2 separate regions of the Homo sapiens genome follow, and region 1 is linked to region 2. Evidence: promoter capture Hi-C in 16 types of primary human blood cells and fetal thymus (Javierre and others, 2016). All regions are on one chromosome and are shown on one strand. Each heading gives the region's core, a stretch centred on a gene start or on the middle of the fragment in contact. The rest is flanking DNA. Distances are from core to core; before and after follow the strand shown. Region 1 has its middle 14 kb from the start of ARMC12. Region 2 holds the start of TULP1 (TUB like protein 1).

What was found. The method cuts DNA at HindIII sites, captures the fragments that hold promoters and counts their contacts. A CHiCAGO score of 5 or more calls a contact.
Region 1: a fragment that was not itself captured here is called in contact with the fragment with the promoter of TULP1 in region 2 in 11 of 17 cell types (naive CD4 T cells, naive CD8 T cells, activated CD4 T cells and 8 more); the score reaches 7.5 in naive CD4 T cells.

Annotation. Positions count from the first base shown.
Region 1 is chr6:35,749,302-35,752,277 of GRCh38, forward strand. No RefSeq gene overlaps it. Among named protein-coding and RNA genes, the nearest start is that of ARMC12, 14 kb to the left of the region's middle. The HindIII fragment of the contact is 5,130 bases long and covers 1-2,976 here.
Region 2 is chr6:35,511,439-35,514,147 of GRCh38, forward strand. TULP1 (TUB like protein 1) reads right to left here and starts at 1,458. Exons shown (of 15, transcript NM_003322.6): 1 at 1,374-1,458; 2 at 1,201-1,252; 3 at 742-832; 4 at 210-368. The coding sequence starts at 1,420. The HindIII fragment of the contact is 3,090 bases long and covers 1-1,681 here.

The sequences.
Region 1 (2,976 bases), core at 214-2,713, 240 kb after region 2:
GCTTTTCAAATCAATGTGGAGCCATTGCTTTCAGGGGGTTGGAAGAAGGCAGGCTTGGGGATTGAAGCCAAAGATAATCAACAGGACGCAGTATAGCATTAGATTAGTTAGGATGGGCCAGGCTATCCCACAGTAACAACACTCACACCTCAGTGGCTTAAACATGGCAAAGGGGGCCAGGCGCGGTGGCTCACGCCTGTAATCCTAGCACTTTGGGAGGCCGAGGCGGGCAGATCACGAGGTCAGGAGATCGAGACCATCCTGGCTAAAACGGTGAAATCCCGTCTCTACTAAAAATACAAAAAATTAGCCGGGCGTGGTAGCAGGCGCCTGTAGTCCCAGCTACTCAGGAGGCTGAGGCAGGAGAATGGCGTGAACCCAGGAGGCGGAGCTTGCAGTGAACCGAGATTGCGCCACTGCACTCCAGCCTGGGCGACAAAGCGAGACTCCGTCTCAAGAAAAAAAAAACATGGCAAATGTTAATTCTTGTTTACACTGCATGCCCATTGCAGATCAGCGGTGGGGGTGGAAGGGCAGGCCTCTACTCCACAACATCCTCACACAGAGACCCAGGTTGAGGGAGGCTTCCTCATTGTGTTTCTACAACTATTACAGAAGGACAGGGAATGTGGTAGTGATAAATGTCATCACTTCTGCTCACATCTCATTAGCCAAAGGGGATGAGGAAGATCATTCTTTCCACGTGTCCAAGGAAGAACTGTTGATCCTTGGTGACAGCATGAATGACAGAGATCTGCAGGCATACTGGGTCAGAAAGGGAGCTCTGGAATCAGAGTGCTCGCTTCCAGTCCCAGCTCTGTCACTTACTGTGTGACCTCAGGGGAGCAGTTAACCCTATTTGAGCTTCAGGCCCCTCATCTATAAAATGCATATAATAATAGTACTGATTTCATGACGCTGTTGGGAAAATGAAAGGGGGATTATATGAGTTAACGAACGTAAGCCACAGTGTTCTGCATGCATTCCTCAAAGATGGGCTCTGAGGAGCTATGAAATCATCACTGAGAAAGCCGGGCAGAGTGGCTCACGCCTGTAATCCCAGCACTTTGGGAGGCTGAGGCGGGAGGATCACCCGAGGTCGGGAGTTCGAGACCAGCCTGACCAACACGGAGAAACCCCGTCTCTACTAAAAATACAAAACTAGCCAGATGTGGTGGCGGGCACCTGTAATCCCAGCTACTTGGGAAGCTGAGGCAGGAGAATTGCTTGAACCCGGGAGGCAGAGGTTGCGGTGAGCTGAGATCACGCTATTGCACTCCAGCCTCAGAGACAGAGGTGCGAGACTCCATCTCAAAAAAAAAAAGAAATCATCACTGAGAAAACAAAAGATCATCACTGGGGAGGTCCTTGGAGAGTGTTGCCTCCAGCATTTCTCCAGTCTCTTCAGGTTATGGGCACTGGGGAGTCCTAGAGTCCTCTATGAAGCGTGCTGAAAAGTCATTGAAACTTAGCTTTGGAAACCAGAACAATGGTGTGAGTAATATAACACCATAACCATGAAGTTTCCAGAAACAAGAAGACTGTCAAACCAAATATGGTCATCCATTTTCCAATTCCCCATTCATTTGCGTTTCCCAGTTGTTCCTTCATTGTTTTTTTTGTTTTTTTGAGACGGAGTCTCGCTCTGTCGCCAGGCTGGAGTACAGTGGTACAATCTCAGCTCACTGCATCCTCTGCCTCCCGGGTTCAAGCAATTCTCCTGCCTCAGCCTCCCGAGTAGCTGGGACTACAGGAGCGCGCCACAACACCCAGCTAATTTTTTGTATTTTTTAGTAGAGAAGGGGTTTCACCATGTTGGCCAGGATGGTCTCGATCTCCTGACCTCGTGATCCCCCCACCTTGGCCTCCCAAAGTGCTAGGGTTACAGGTGTGAGCCACCACGCCCAGCCCTCATTCACTGTTTTATCTGTGAATCCTTGCTGGGAAACAGTAAGGATTGCTAACGGTTTAAGAAAATGCTACGGGAGAGAAACCTAATGTTGGAGCTATTCCCAGCCTGAGACTGCTCGATCTAGGACAAAGAACCTGGTCCAGCCACGGGCTCCCGGTGTTCTTCAGAAGCAGGATTTGAAAACTAGTCTCGTCCAGGACCAACCCTGGCATTTTCCTGAAAGGAAAACAAACCCAAAATGGAAAAGTGACTTGCTCAAGGTCACATGACTGGTCTAGGGCAGAAATAGGATTAGAACCTCCTACTACTGAGCTTTTCTTTTGCCCTCACATTCTTCGGTCCAAGCCCCGTAAGAGTGGGTCATGGATTCTAAGCCCAAACCTATGGAAACTGAGGAGGATCTTGATGCTTCTGGATTTTAGAGGCCAGTTTAGGACTGAAGTACTTAAAGGAAATCTGTCCCCACTTAATCCCTGGCCCAAGGTCATATCACTCAGGTGGAAGAGGGAGGGTGTTTCTTGATGAGGATGGGCTGATGAGAAAGAGCCAGAGCCTATAGAGAGGCCAACCCCGTCACTGTCTCCCAGAATGAGTGGGCAGTCACTACCAGATCTGAATCAGCATCCCTTGTTTCCCTCCTGAGTTCAGGCCTGAGGCTGCTCCTTCTTGCTGCTGAATACACTGCAGCCACCCCAGTGGAACTTGTCAAATGCCGACGTTTCCTTTCGACCAGCTCCATGTGTGCCCATGTCACCAACAAGGTGTTGGGCATCACTTTCAAATTCTCCTCCCCACCACATCCACCTAGTTCCCCCATTTCCACTGCTACTGCCCTGTCCTCCACATCAGGACTTGCCTACTTCTTTCTTTCTTTCTTTTTTTTTTTTTTTGAGACAGGGTCTCACTCTGTCTCCCAGGCTAAAGTGCAGTGGAGCAAACACAGCTCACTGCAGCCTCGACCTCCCAGGCTCACGTGGTCCTTCCACGTCAGCCTCCTTGGGTAGCTGGGACTACAGGAGTGTGCCACCGCGCCCAGCTAATCTTTTGTATTTTTTTTGTAAAGA
Region 2 (2,709 bases), core at 208-2,707:
CTCCATCTGTACAATGGTGGAGGGGGGGAACAAAGCACCCTCTCATAGTTGGTGCTTAGCACAATACCTGGCTCAAAGATAAGGCCAGAAAAGTGGGGGCTATTTGACTACAGTTGTTTTCTGCCTCTCTGGGCCGTTCCCGTCCAGCCAGCCCCTTCTCTCCTTAGCTCCACCGCCCCCTCACCCGCGTCCCTGGGGCCCTCTCTCACCGTCCTCCGCGTCTGGGGCACGGGCTACCAGAAAGGTTTCCCGGGGGTCGCGCTTCTTGGCCTCGGGGTCCCTGAGGAACCTGGCGTAGACCGTCTGCGGCGCCCGGGCCTGGGCTGGGTCTGGGGAAGGCTCCTCCCGCGGCCTCCCCGTCCGCCCAGCTGAGCCGAGATGCGGGGTTCAGACAGGGTCCCATCCGCGGGTCCGCGAGGCAGCGCCTCTACCCGCTACCCCCAAGCCTGGGCGCACCCCCTCGGGCTCCTCACCCTAGGGATCTCCCCTGGGCTTGGGTTTCCACTTTCAACACTTCTCCCCGGCTTCCATTCAGCTTCCCACCCCCTTCTACCCCAACGCCACCCCCTTCTACACCAACCCCAACCCCAACCCCAACCCCAATCCCTCCCCTCTCATCACTCCCCGCCCCCTCCTCCCCCACCCCGTTCCAGGGCTCGGCGACACCCGCGCCGGCCCTCAAGCCCCTCCCTTCCGCAGCCCACACCCTGGGGGTCCACCCGGGCTCTGCACCCCGCCCACCTCCGGGCTTCCGGGGCTTGGATCCCGTGGGGCAGGGGGATTCGGGGGCCTCCGTCCTCTTCTTCCTTAGCCTCTGTGCCGGGGCGGGTCGCTGCGGAACGGGGGTCAAGAGGAGGTCGAGGAAGGAAAGGGGGGCGCTGAGGCCCGCCCATCCCCCTCTAATCCCTTGAGCCGCCAGAAATAACCGCAGATTATCCGGGGGGAACTGCAGCCCCCTTCTTGGAGTGAGGCAGGATGACCCCTTCCATGCATCGTGGCCATATCCAATGCTCCAAAGTCCCTATTCCTTCCCTGGAAACCCCAAGTCCCCAAACAGCCCTTTCTCCCCCCAGATCTCCAGACATGCAACCCCCAGACCCTGCTAAGGGGGACCTGTCCCACCCCTAGACCCCCTACCCTGCGTGGGTTTACGCACAGCGGGGACATCTTTCTGCTTCCTTTCCAAGTGGGGTGGCATACCTGTTTGGGGCGCCGCGGGGCCTCCGGGCTCAGGCTTTCTTCTTCATGCCCACTGAGGGTAGCAAAGGGATCAGCCTGTCTCCCTTCCCCTTCCCTCCCCATCCCACCCACTCCCCATCCCTCCATCTAGGCCCCCCAGGGTTCAGGTGCCACGAACTGGGGGCCTTCCAGACCTGTCAGAGGCCCACACCTCTCGGAGGGTTTCATCCCGCAGAGGCATGGTGCCTTTGCCTATCGCACCCCTTTCTCTGCAGGTCTAGGAGCCTCCCTCCCGACTCCTGCTAATCTCGGCTCAACTTCACCCCCCTTCCCCCTGCTCAAGGAGTGGAGGCCTGGCCGCGCTGTGGGAGGTGCTACAGCCCACGACCCTCCCCTGCTAGGCCCAGGCCACTGGGGGAAGAATCTCAACTCCAGTTCTTCTCAGATCCCCAGCAGCCTGCAGGATGGCCACCAGCTCCACCTGCCCCGAGAAGCCCCCAGAAGCTTGGGGTGAGAGGGGCCGATTAGTCATTTGTCAATGGGATGTGGAAGAAAACATTAGACTGGATCCTGTATTTATCTTTATTTCTCACAAAAAATAAGAACTAGAGCCAGGTGCGGTGGTTTACACCTGTAATCCCAGCACTTTGGGAGGCTGAGACAGGTGGATCATTTGAGGTCAGGAGTTCGAGGCCAGCCTGGCCGGCACAGTGAAACCCAGTCTCTACTAAAAATTCAAAAATTAGCCGGGTGCGGTGGCTCACCCCTGTAATCCCAGCACTTTGGGAGGCCGAGGCAGACGGATCACAAGGTCAGGAGATCGAGACTATCCTGGCTAACATGGTGAAACCTCATCTCTACTAAAAATGCAAAAATTAGCCGGGCATGGCGGCAGGCACCTGTAGTCCCAGCTACTCAGGAGGCTGAGGCAGGAGAATGGCGTGTACCTGGGAGGCGGAGCTTGCAGTGAGCGGAAATCATGCCACTGCACTCCTGCCTGGGCAACAGAGTGAGACTCCGTCTCAAAATAAATAAATAAATAAATAAAAAATTAGCTGGGCATCGTGGTGGGCACCTGTAGTCCCAGCTACTGGGGAGGCTGAGGCAGGAGAAGCACTTGAACCTGGGAGGCGGAGGTTGCAGTGAGCCGAGATCTTGCCAATGCACTCCAGCCTGGCCAAAAAGAGCAAGACTACATCTCAGAAAAAAAAAAAAAAAAAAGAATATGTCTGTATTGGAGGTATACCCTTAACTCTTTTTCTTTTTTCACTGATAGGGGACATGCTTTTGTGGTATTGTTTTGTTTTGTTTTAGACAGAATTTTGCTCTTGTCACCCAGGCTGGAGTGCAGTGGCACGATCCTGGCTAATTACAGTAAATCCATATCAAATGGAACTTTCTAAAATACTATTTCTTCGGTTGCCACCTTTGTTCAAAAACATTCATTGGCTCCCTACTGCCTAAGGATTAAGTTTAAATGTGTTGGGTTGACATTCAAGGCTCTCCCTGATCTGGCCCCAGTCTGCCTTT